Linked DNA regions of Homo sapiens: region 1 is linked to region 2. Evidence: promoter capture Hi-C in 16 types of primary human blood cells and fetal thymus (Javierre and others, 2016). All regions are on one chromosome and are shown on one strand. Each heading gives the region's core, a stretch centred on a gene start or on the middle of the fragment in contact. The rest is flanking DNA. Distances are from core to core; before and after follow the strand shown.

Region 1 (6,282 bases), core at 2,691-5,190, 880 kb after region 2:
ATAAATGAATATAGGGTTAAAATATTACAGTATATATGAACTACACTACTGTTTTAATCATTAGTTGATTAACTTAACAGTTTCATATGATTGTCAATATCAGTACATCACTTATAATGGACAGGATTTGGCTAGATGACTTCTGAGAATCCTTCTAATGTAATATGTTCGGACTTTGTGAATTAAGCCCCAAAGCATACCTTATACTTAAAAGCACTTATCCATCACTAAAAATTATAAACTGCATTCTAGTGAACAACTCTGGTAATGTTGATCCACATATATGGACATTTCCTAGATATAAAGTTGAACTTTTTAGCCAGAAGATTTATATATTGGTACATCTCTTCCTTCCTTTTCTTTCCTTCTTTTCTTCCTTTTTGCTTTCTTTCCTTCCTTTCTTCTGCCATCCAACCATCTATACATCCTTTAGTTGCTCTCAAAAGCAACTCATTATGCTTGTTTTTAAAAACTGCTGGAAATATTTGCAACTACTAACATTTTATTAGAAAAGACACAATTATCAAAAGTTTTCACAGAAATATGATTCACATGTTTAAGAAAAAATAGATACAAAATTTGTTTTTGCTTTAGGATGAGCATTTTCCCAGATTAGAATTAGATTTGTTAAGTATATCTAATATCTTTAATTTTAAATATTCTGCCATCTTATCTGGGCTGGGAGGGTTTATTTATATGTTTCAACTCAGTGGAAACAGGTGAAATATAAGAATACCTTTCAAAATTATTTCAATATTGACTAATGTTTCAGCAATTTGAGGAGATGATAAGGATTATCAAGGCCTTACCCACTGAATTCTTTACAATTGACTGTGTACAAAATTTACTAAAAGAGGCACCTTTCAAAATCCCTATTATTGTGCTTTACAGGAGTCTCCCATTTTCCCCTTTATCGTGATAATGTGCACTCTTCATATGTTTGAGTAAAATAACTCGTGCTCAATTTATTCATATTTGATTCTCTCCTCAAAACTTTATGACCATTCTTCAAATAATTTCTTGTCCCTTTTTCCCTTTTTTGAATGCTTCTATTATATAATATGGGTCAAATACTTGTACCTTTATTCTAATTAAAATATAAATAAAAATATAAATTAAAAAATAAAAATAATTTTAAGTCCCACTTACTTAAAGTACACAGTTATTTCAAGAGATAGCACAGACTAGACTATTTTAGTAGCTCACAATAAGTTGGACAATCCTTGTGGTATATAAAATGAGAATCAACCTGTGTGGCAGAATATGGTTCCCCGACCATTTCCTTTTCCTCTTGACACACAGCTAGACTGCATTTCTCAGGCTCCCAGGCAGTCAGATGTAGCCATGTAACTGAGTTCTGGCCAGTGGAATGTGGGTGGAAGTGAAATGCCTACTCCCAAGTCTGATGAGTTGTACCCCTCCCCAACCTCCATTCTCTGGAGAAATGGGGAGAGCTCTGAGGACCTACAGCAAAGAAGAGCCACTGATAGTAGGAGACTGTATCCCAACCAATAGAGGCATCCAATCATGAACACCCACATTATACAGTGTCTAAGCATGAATTAAATCAGTCTAATGTGACTGATACAACTGCAAATCACTGGGAAATGAATGCAAGGTCGTCCTCCACTCCTCTCCTCAGCTTTATTATTTCTCCTTCCCTATTCTGACACCCAGGGTAGGAGTGAATTATTGTGTGTGGATTAAAACACAGAAGCTTAGGGAAATAAGTTAATGGCAGAGCTAGGACCAAAACCTAGGCCTCCTGATTTCCATGCTAAGCTTTTCAGCTACCTACCCCCAAGTATGCTACACCAATGGATGGTGCCAAGAACCATTAAAAGAAAGGAAAGAAAATATCAGGGAGAAAGATGCAGGTGACAGGCCGGGCGCAGTGGCTCACACCTGTGATCCCAGCCCTTTGGGAGGCCGAGGCAGGCAGATCACGAGGTCAGGAGATCGAGACCATCCTGGCCAACAAGCTGAAACCCTGTTTCTACTAAAAGTACAAAAATTAGCTGGGCGTGGTGGTGCGTGCCTGTAATCCCAGCTACTCGGGAGACTGAGACAGGAGAATCGCTTGAACCAGGGAGTCGGAGGTTGCAGTGAGCCAAGATCGTGCCACTGCACTCCAGCCTGGCGACAAAATGAGACTCCATCTCAAAAAAAAAAAAAAAAAAAAGAAACATGCAAGTGACAATGTCAGCTGTCATAGAATGAGGGAAATGGGCATACACCAGTGAATTTCTACCAAGACTATGAAACATCTTCTCAGTGACTTCATTGTTCTTCTGGGAGAGTTAATGAAGTTAATGTCCTCTGGGTTCATTAAGTAGATGAGATTCATGATTTTGGAAAGAGATGCATCTATGATGCCTGCAGCTGATAAACAGAATTTGAGTGTTGAGGATGCAGAAGGAGAAGCCTGAAATCCAACTTAAAATAATTATATAAAATTAAGTAGACAAGGTCCCACTAATAATTATCAAAGCTTCTATTGGGTTTATGTAATTTTTTTCTAAGAAATGAACATACATTTTATATATCATATATATTAATTTTTTATGTTCTTTCATTGTATTACATAGAAAATTCTATGTAATTTCTTCCTCGGTGCCATGGCTCCCTGACATACATGACCATAATGACACTTATTTGTTTACTTAGCTTTCTAACAGGGAGCTATTAAGGTCAAGAAAAATTGTTTAGATAGCATATTAAGCACTTGTTTAACGTTGCTTATGAAAATATATGAGACCTGAAAATTAGATCAACTCCACCTCTAACCATATTAATTGGAGATCATTTTCTTTTTATGTCTTGCAAACCAAGAATATATAAGAGTGAAAGATGCTTTCTTTGGGAGGTTTGTTTTGTTTTTTATCCATTATTGTTTACCTTAACTGGAACATAAACATTTCAAAGGAAATCAACTGAATAGGGGGATAAGTCTAGACATCGAGTGAGGAGTTCTTACATGTTCATTGGAGATGTTAAAATATTCAGCCAGGAGTGGTGGCTCACGCCTGTAATCCCAGAACTTTGGGAGGCCGAGGCGGGTGGATCACCTGAGGTCAGGAGTTCGAGAGCAGCCTGACCAACGTGGAGAAACCCTGTCTCTACTAAAAATACAAAGTTAGCAGGGCGTGGTGGCACACGCCTGTAATCCCAGCTACTCGGGAGACTGAGGCAGGAGAATTGCTGAACCCAGGAGGCGGAGGTTGCGGTGAGCCGAGATCACGCCATCGCACTCCAGCCTGAGCAACCAGAGCGAAATTCCGTCTCAAAAAAAAAAAAAAAAATCAGAATTTATTCTCTCTTGCCATCACCCATCGCCCAATTTCCATTCCATATACCTTCTGGATGGCTAGCTTTTGTGAAACTTAGCTTTTGTAAAGGCCAGGGATGAGTCTGATTTTAGGATATTTCTATAATATTCTGATTAGGGGTCTCATGTACTCAGATCTTAGTTAAGTCACAGACACATATCTCTACTTCTTACCTGTTCTTCCCTCCACAACCACTTGTCGGGAAGAGATCCCTCCACTCACTGTTGTTACCACCACGGAGTACAGGCTGCCGGACTTGAGAGAGTGGAAGCTGTATCTGCTGGTCTCACTGGAGATGCTTTCATTTTTAATGACCACATTTTCATGGATCAGTAAGACTTGGTAAAATTCTACGTCTCCTTGTGCCTGGGTCCAGTTAGTAAACAGACTACTGGTCATTCCTTGGTTGGCCACATGCAAGTCAGTCACTTGGGCAGGCACTAAAACAGTAGACAGAAGAAAAAACAAATGACACTTAGTCACCTTAAGAAAGTGTAAGAAAAATGAGTCAAAAAATGGAGACAGACTTGAAAGTACTAAAAATAATTTTTGTGTTGTTGCTATAGACTCTCAGTTCTATTTCCTGTGGCATATGGAGAACTACTCCTCTAGAGAGGCTCTAGTACTTTGAAAAAGCTGCTTATATAGGGAATCAAAATTATTTAAGATCCAAAGATGAGATGATGCATGCTTATTAAGTGGTTTTGATTTTAAATTTTAGATAATGAAGGCTGCTATTTTTGAAAACTGCTTAGTTAATGTGATTTTATCTGTCCTTACCCCATGAGAATTCAAAGCTATCTAATCTACCTGAGCCAATGATTGTTATGGGGTGGTATTGGGAATTCCCTTCAGTCTGTTGATTATGGTCTAGCAAACTGATTAGTTCTATACTGGCACATTCTTAAAGGGGCTGTTATTATACATGAACATGTGATAATAATATAAATTATAATATATATATTAAAAAATAATGATAATAACAACAACTACTGAAGGCCTACTATGTGCCAGTTATGAGCTATATGTCTCATAAAGGTTACATTATTTGACACCCATTCAGAACTCTATAAAGTTGACTTTATTATTCCATTTATTAACAAGGAAACCAAGGATCATAAAATGTAAGTAATTTAGCCTATATCACAGTGCTAACAAATAGCCAACCTGGAACTGAAAGCTAGATTTATCTAACCCCTAAGCCTGTGTCCTTTTCCTAATTAACAACATTTATTTCTTCCAACTTATCATTTAACAAATCTTATACACAGATCTTGAAGTTGGCACTTGGTCAACATACATTCTTCTTTGTGCCTCTTTCCTGAATTACAATAATCAAAGGGACTGGAACCTTGGCACCCCTCTTTCTCAAAGTTCATTGACTTCTGGATTAAGATACAAAAGCGTTCATTAAAAAAATCCTACTGTATATGGATCAGATTCAATTCTAAAGATTCAATTATAATTCTAAATTTTATATGAAAGGCAAACAGCTACAGTGGCCAAAGCAATTTTGAAAAAGATGAATAAAGTTAGAGGACTAACACCACCTGATTTCACTAAAAATCTTGTAATCAAGACAGGATAATACTGGCAAAGGGCAGACAGAAACATAGATTGATAGAACAGAATTGAGAGCCCAGAGATAGAAGAATATGCTATCAATGGATTTTTTAGAGATTCAAAGGCAATTTCATGGAGAAAAGATAGTCTTTTCAATACATAGAGGTAGAATTATCAGATGTCTATATGCAAAGAAAAAAACCTTCACCTATATCTCACATCATATATAAAAATTAACTCAAAATGGGTCGCAGACCTACATTTAAAACCTAAAACTATAACCTTCTAGGAGAAAACCTTTGTGACCTTGATTTAGGCAAATATTTTTAGATATGACACCACAGCATGATTTATGAAAGAAAAAAACTGATAAATTGGACATCAAAATGAAAAACCGACAGAAAACATTTTGACCAAGGACAAACAAACAATCCTATTTTAAAATCCAGCAAAATATTTGAACAAAAACTTCCCCAGAAAAGATAAATGGGTGACAAATAAGCTTGTGAAAGGATTCTCAAACCCATTAGACATTAGAAAAAGGCAAATTAAAACCACATGAGCTATCATTATCTTATTATAATGGCTATTCCATTAGAATGGCTAAATTTTAAAACAAACTGCTAATACCATGTACTACATGCTGAGAACACGGAGGAAGTGGAAATTTCATACATTGCTGGTGGGAATGTAAAATTTTACAATACTTTGGAAAGCAGTTTGGCAGTTTTCTACAAAGTTAAACATGCATTTACCATATGACCCAGCAATATGGGTGGTGGGGATGATAAAAATGACCTTAGGTCTAAAACAATGTCTTGGACTTCCCTTTCTGGCAGTATGATAGGCTAGATACCATGAAAATCCTTCTAATAAACACAACTATACATATTGGATAAAATGTGAAAATGTAAATGAATGACTTGTCAGGAATGTAAGAGATTCTCAAAGGCCAAAAAGTAAAGGATAGAGAGGTAATTGGATCATAAAGCGAACTGTTGTGTTGAGAGCACCTTTCAAATGCAAATGTAAGCTTTGATTTTATAGCACTGCAGGATATTGGAGAAAGGAGGTAAAGTGTAGATTTTTCCAGGCTGAAGAAACTCATAGCTGACCTTGCATAACATTGGAAAGGCTACATTCTAAGTATAAGTGAAATAAATAGTCTCTCTTTACTCCCCATACAACTTCAGCCTTCTTAATACTGGATGGAGAAAACGATTTCCTCTGAGAACTCATAACCTTAAGATAGTTTCAATGTGTTTGCAACCTGAATTTATAAAACCCAGGTGATCAAAGAACCTAAAGTTGACAATTTAGATTAAAGTAGGTCTGGTTTGATAGCAGTCTTGTGCACCTGAAAGAATCAAATGAAAATTCTTTCTGAAAC
Region 2 (6,277 bases), core at 2,100-4,599:
TTTGTCAAATTCCTCCAAAAATAGAAATAAATGTAATCAAATTAATGAATCTGGTTCCTCCTTATAATTTTTGTTAGGAATAATTATGTACCTATAATAGAGCTAATAAAGACTTAGAGAATGAAACTACATCTATATTTTTCTATAGATGTGTTTGATTTTCTTGACAAACTCATCCTATAGTTCTTGGTATACCTTTGATTAAGATAGAAAGATCTATTTTAATAAGGTATTACAATTGAACTTTAAAAATTTAAGGATGACTTGAACTGATAATTTTTGTTATAAATGTAAGCCCTCTGCTTTAGAAGAAATATATGCATAAAATGTTGTGGGGTATAAGTATGATATTGGAACAAAAGTTGAGGCCCCAAGGAACATTTCTAGCTACATTGCAACTGTACTAAGGGCTATTCTGTTCTATTCTTAGCAGAAGTAGCAGCAATAAATTCACATTAGTAAAAATGAACTAATGAGATAATTATCACGAAACACCATTGTATCTTTTACCATTTCATATTCTGAAGGCTTAGGTGATACCTACCTAAATTGCCAAAATAATATCATATTATATGACATGTCTGAAAAATTATTAGAGGTTGTTAATAGGACTTTCCCTCTAAAAATATTTTGTCAAGATATATACCAATGCATACACTTGCTTGGAAGGGTTGTTTTGACATGTGGAAAAATAGCTGTACCTATTTTACTTTTAATAATTATCAGTCAACTACATTAATATCCCTCTTTTCCAAAGGAGATCCTGTTGCTGCAAGGAAGAATGTGAGAGCAATGAAACACAAATTTGTTTATCTGTATGCAGAAGAAAAATAACAAACTATGAACATAGAAAAAATGGAAATACAGCCTCAAAAACCTTTAGCTTTCCTGTTTTAAATTTTAGCTTCCTCCAGAGAAGAAATTTATGCATTCAATTTTAATAAAAAAAGCTTTAAAATCTCATAAGTCTTCCCTTTTATCATACTGATGAAATTTTATTAAGACTATAACTTTTCATCATAAAAATATTTCTTGGACTTGATATTGCTCAAATTTCCTGTCAATCTGACAGGCATATGTTGTAATGTTATAAAGAATAAGCACCTCCTTTTGTGAACATAATATACCCTCAACTCAGAAAACGGAAAGAAAATAAATTATTCTACAGGCCTTTGCTTTAGTTGAGGTACTGTTAAGTGTGGCAGGCATCATCCTGGATAAGATATTTTCATTCCAGGCCAAAAGAAGGAAAGCTTTTCCCTGACATACACCAATCATGAACATGTTGATTATATAGGTAGTTGCTACAAGCTGTCAAATCATCAACTATGAATGACAAGTTGACAGAAGCACAAATAATTATTGTCTGTGGACTTTGCCCATTCAAAAGTCTTTACACAGTAAAGATCTAAGGATAATCCTTCCATTTTGTGCCTATTGCAACAGTCTCGAGGCACAACTGGGGCTGGAATGAAGGCCACCTGAATCTTAACAGTGAGGGTCTATTTTACAACCTAACAATGGTTAGTGGTGGATTAAAATCTGTCCTGAGGGGAAGAAGACAAATGAGAGGCTCACGCAAAAAAGGAGTTCCATAATGCGAAGTCAGTGGCAATCAAAAGGTTCAGATTTTTGAGACTGTATCTTACACAATATCTGATGGCCATTTAAGGAGACATGTAAAGAAAAGTACCTGTATACCAAACTTATTGCTGTATAAAGAACAGCAAAAACAATAAATTCCCTGTACAGTAGTTTGTAGATGCTGCCTCTCCACTTGAGGAGTAACCTATGAAATCCAAAAAAAGTTGCATTTGCTACTTTACTGGAGTAAGTGACAGTCATCTTGGATAGTTTTTTCTAGAAGAGCAAGAAGACAAAACACAAGTAAAAAGCAATGTTTAAAATAGGGCATAAATCTGTATGTCTGTATATCAAGGAAATTCAAGCCAGCAACTAGTCAGCCATATCTCTGTTTTGTCTTTCTTAGTTTCTATAATTCGGAACTTTCAGATAACCATTATCTCAGTTTAGCAGAAAGCAGGAGGAAAGCAGTCTCTGGGAAGAGTAATATTAGACATCTTAAACTTGCCTTAACTGTTAAATATTATTTTTAGATTATATAGCCATTGGCCAATATATATTTGAATGAACAAATGAGACAAACAAGGCCCTCGTGAGAATTTAATTGATGGGGCACTTTTGGTGGGTTTGATTGCATGTAGATGTCTCTCTAGTGGAGGTCCAAATGCATCGTTAGCACTCATTGCATTTCAAAAGTCAGCCAAAAAGTTGGGTCATAGTGATAAATAAGAATGGTGCAGTTTCCCCATGACAAGTTGTACATAAATGCTTAGGGATGGTTCACATTCTCTTTGGAGTTGAACAAAATGAGGTCATTATTTACAACTCTTTCTACTTGAGTCCATTTCATGAATGTGGTTAGGATGAGCACTGGGCCCAAAAGCCTTGTTTTTGGTGAGTTCTTTGGAATTCCACCACTTTTCACCAAGACATTAAATATTCAGGTTTTGAAACAGACAGCGCAAAGCTAATCTTTGAAAATCTTGCTCAATTTCTGGCTAAGATAGAACATATGCAAATAAAATGAGATTTATTTAAAATCTTACTTTTCTCAAAAGGATCTATGAGGAGAGTCTTATAGAGCTACTTAGACTGAAATCATGAAGCTTTTAGATAGAATTGTACTAGACACAAAAAATAAATTCTGTAGCAGATTTCTTTTGTAAAGTAGCCTACACCACACATTTTATCATAAACAAGAAAATTTTCTATCTTTACTCATTGCTGGAAAAACAATTCAACTCTGATTTGCCTATTTTCCCTAAGGAAATGAAACTCTGGAGCTACGTTTACAGCATTTTCTAAAATCACAAACTTAGCTTTCAACATTACTGATTTTAATAAAGAAGGTAGGGCCTTTTGGCACAAGTAAGTGGCATTACAAAAGGATGGGACTCATGCCACAAAACCGGTTTTATTTTTCCATCTTTACCTTGTCTATTTGCCTAGTGCGAATACAGCCAAAATTGGGAGAGGAGCATAATAAATTAAACCCATTTCATAATTTGTTCTCATGGACTCCCGGTAGTTTTAAATAACAGTCCTTAATTAACTTTCCTTTCTTTCATTTAGTAGTTCACTCTTCTTTTCAAGCTCTGCCAGGAAAATGAAAATCACAGCAAGTAGAGGTCAGAATTAAAATGCATAGGTTTACTCTGGGCACTAACCTATTTATTTGGTTTGTAGTCTCCGACAGGAAAGAGAATCTTCAAATTTCGGGCTCCCCCGAAGAGGTGCCTTCAGGTCGGTGCTGCACGCCCGGTGTCACCCTTCGCTCGTGCACAGTCAGATTTTCTTTCTGTTCTCTGGCCACTGAGAGGACCCAGAGTGTGACAAGAACAGGGGTTAAATGTTTTTCCACTTGTAGAGGCCTGTTTATGCCAGTTTAGCCACTGATGACAGTTATAGCTGGGAACAAACAGAAGCAACAGCTGCTGATGCTGCTTTTTTCTAAGCTATAATTATAACTCCACCTGCCACCCCAAGTACCCCTTTGAATGAGAAGTTGGCAGTGACATGAAGGATGTTGGGCCGTTTGTCTGTTAGATTCATTTGACTCCACCCTGGGATCAAGGAAGAAAGGTTGATTTGGCCCTAAAGAGTTCAAAAAAGAGGCCCCACCAGCCAAAAAAAAAAAAAAAAAGTCTTTTTGTGCTTGAAATGAAGATTAAATTCTTAAAACTGGGCTGGAACGCGGTGGCCCACACCTGTAATCCTAGCACTTTGGGAGGCTGAGGCAGGCAGATCACCTGAGGTCAGGAGTTCGAGACCAGCCTGGCCAACATGGTGAAACGCTGTCTCTACTAAAAATACAAAAATTAGCTGGGTCTGGCGGTGGGCTCCTGCAATCCCACCTACTTGGGAGGTTAAGGCTGGAGAATCACTGGAACCCAGGAGGCGGAGGTTGCAGTGAGCTGAGATCACACCACTGCACTCCAGCCTGGGCGACAGAGCGAGACTCTGCCTCAAAAAACAGATGAAAAAATTCTTATGAAGCCATAAACTGGGGCAGACAAGAATATAAACAGGATTTTTGCCACTTGAGAGGTGTTGAAAATGTTCTTCAATTAAAAGCAACGATTATGTGTTAGTGTGTGTGTGGTGTGTGTTTGTGTGTTAGAAGAACACATAGAGAATCATGATATATTGATGGCTTAGTGTAGTGGGAAATAATAACACATGGATTCATCACATTTTTTTTCTTTTAAGATGGAGTCTCGCTCTGTCGCCCAGGCTGGAGTGCAGTGGCACGATCTTGGCTCACTGCAACCTCACCTCCCGGGTTCAAGCGATTTTCCTCCCTCAGCCTCCCAAGTAGCTGGGATTACAGGTGCACACCATCACACCGGCTAATTTTTTATATTTTTGGTAGAGATGAGGCTTCACCATGTTGGCCAGGCTGATCTCGAGCTCCTTACCTCAAGTGATCTGCCTGCCTCGGCCTTCCAAAATGCTGGGATTACAGGCGTGAGGCAACGCACCCGGCCAGATTCATCACATTTGTTATCCTTCCATGGTCAGCTAGGAAATTTTTTCTTTTTTTTTTTGAGATGGAGCTTTGCTCTTCTTGCCCAGGCTGGAGTGCAATGGTGCCGATCACGGTGCACTGCAACCTCCGCCTCCCGGGTTCAAGCGATTCTCCTGCCTCAGCCTCCTGAGTAGCTGGGATTACAGGCATGCGCCACCATGCCCAGCTAATTTTGTATTTTTAGTAGAGACAGGGTTTCTCCATGTTGGTCAGTCTGGTCTTGAACCCCCGACCTCAGGTGATATGCCTGCCTCGGCCTCTCAAAGTGCTGGGATTACAGGTGTGAGCCCACCACACCCGGCGCATAGTTTCTTTCTTTTCTTTTCCTTCCTTCCTTCCTTCCTTCCTTCCTTCCTTCCTTCCTTCCTTCCTTCCTTCCTTCCTTCGTTCCTTCCTTCGTTCCTTCCTTCCTTCCTTCCTTCCCTCCCTCCCTCCCTCCCTCTCTCTCTCTCTCTTCTTTCTTTCTTTCTTTTTTTGAGACACAGTCTCACTCTGTCGCTTAGGCTGGAGTGCAATGGCACAATCTTGGCTCACTGCAACCTCTGCCTCCTGGGTTCATGCAATTCTCCTGCCTTAGCCTCCCGAGTAGCTGGGACTACAGGCGTGTCCCACCACACCTGGCTAATTTTTGTATTTTTGGTAGAGAGGGAGTTTCACCATATTGGTCAGGCTGGTCTTGAACTCCTGACCTGGTGATTCGCCCTCCTCAGCCTCCCAAAGTGCTGGAATTATAGGCGTGAGCCATCGCGCCCAGCCCCATATTTTCTTTCTTAAAAGAGAGAATTCACCAGCGTTCTTTAAGTAATAAAATAAATAATTTCAGGGCCAATTCCTGGGACTTTTCCAACCTTCTAAAGTAACTTGTGCACCCTTGCACCTTAACTTAAAGAAAATGTATTTTTGTGGAGAAAGATATAGAAAAAAATGCTTATTCTAAAATTAAGATTACATATAATTAAATTTTTCTAAAACAGTAAGTTTTATATGCATTTCGCTGGATTCTTTATCAAATTCTAGGTACCTTAGATTAGAGCAAAGCCAGGGCTGTAGGTATCTTTTTAATTTCTTGCCCCCATCCCTGTTCATAATTCCAGTATGGAGCCCTGTGAATAATGAATATTTAGTATGTATTTGCTGTTTGATTATTCCTTACCTTCACTATTATAATTCTGTTGGTTATTTGAGGGAATTTGTGAACATTTAAAAAGCATATATACAATGTTGCACATCTTATGTTGTGTTGCCATGAAAAGTGGTCTGATAGATCTGATGTTATGTTTATAAAGGTTTGCAAGACGAATCTCAGCAAATCTAAACCCAAATGCTTATGAAATAGGAACATCGGAGGTATTTTGTAAAATTCTCACTCTTGCATCTCCTATTGGTTGTGTGGTGGCCCTGACAGCTGGCATATTCCCAGCAGCCATGACTGCATAGCTAGGGGATCTGCCTCTGTGGGGCACTGAACGCACTGTTGGTTGGTTTCATTTCTAAACAGGGATAATTATGTTCCTCTCTCCCATTGGGTTGTTTTGAGGAATGACTAATTAATGGTTGGAGACAGCATTCTAAATGCAAATTAGTCAATAATGATCAGATTGAATGAACAAACTCCCATTGTTGAGCTCTGAATCTGGTGGTGATTTCTAACAGGTACTGAAAGAG

The links. Contacts are between HindIII fragments. The CHiCAGO score rates a contact against its expected background, and 5 or more counts as called.
Region 1: a contact is called between a fragment that was not itself captured here and the fragment with the promoter of BEST3 in region 2, in 2 of 17 cell types (M2 macrophages and total CD8 T cells). The highest score is 5.9, in M2 macrophages.

What each region holds. Positions count from the first base shown.
Region 1 is chr12:70,577,534-70,583,815 of GRCh38, forward strand. It overlaps PTPRB (protein tyrosine phosphatase receptor type B), which reads right to left. Exons shown (of 34, transcript NM_001109754.4): 10 at 3,503-3,769. Among named protein-coding and RNA genes, the nearest start is that of PTPRB, 57 kb to the right of the region's middle. The HindIII fragment of the contact is 2,903 bases long and covers 2,490-5,392 here.
Region 2 is chr12:69,695,954-69,702,230 of GRCh38, forward strand. It overlaps BEST3 (bestrophin 3), which reads right to left and starts at 3,350. Exons shown (of 10, transcript NM_032735.3): 1 at 3,252-3,350; 2 at 1,694-1,860. The coding sequence starts at 1,845. The HindIII fragment of the contact is 3,631 bases long and covers 2,689-6,277 here.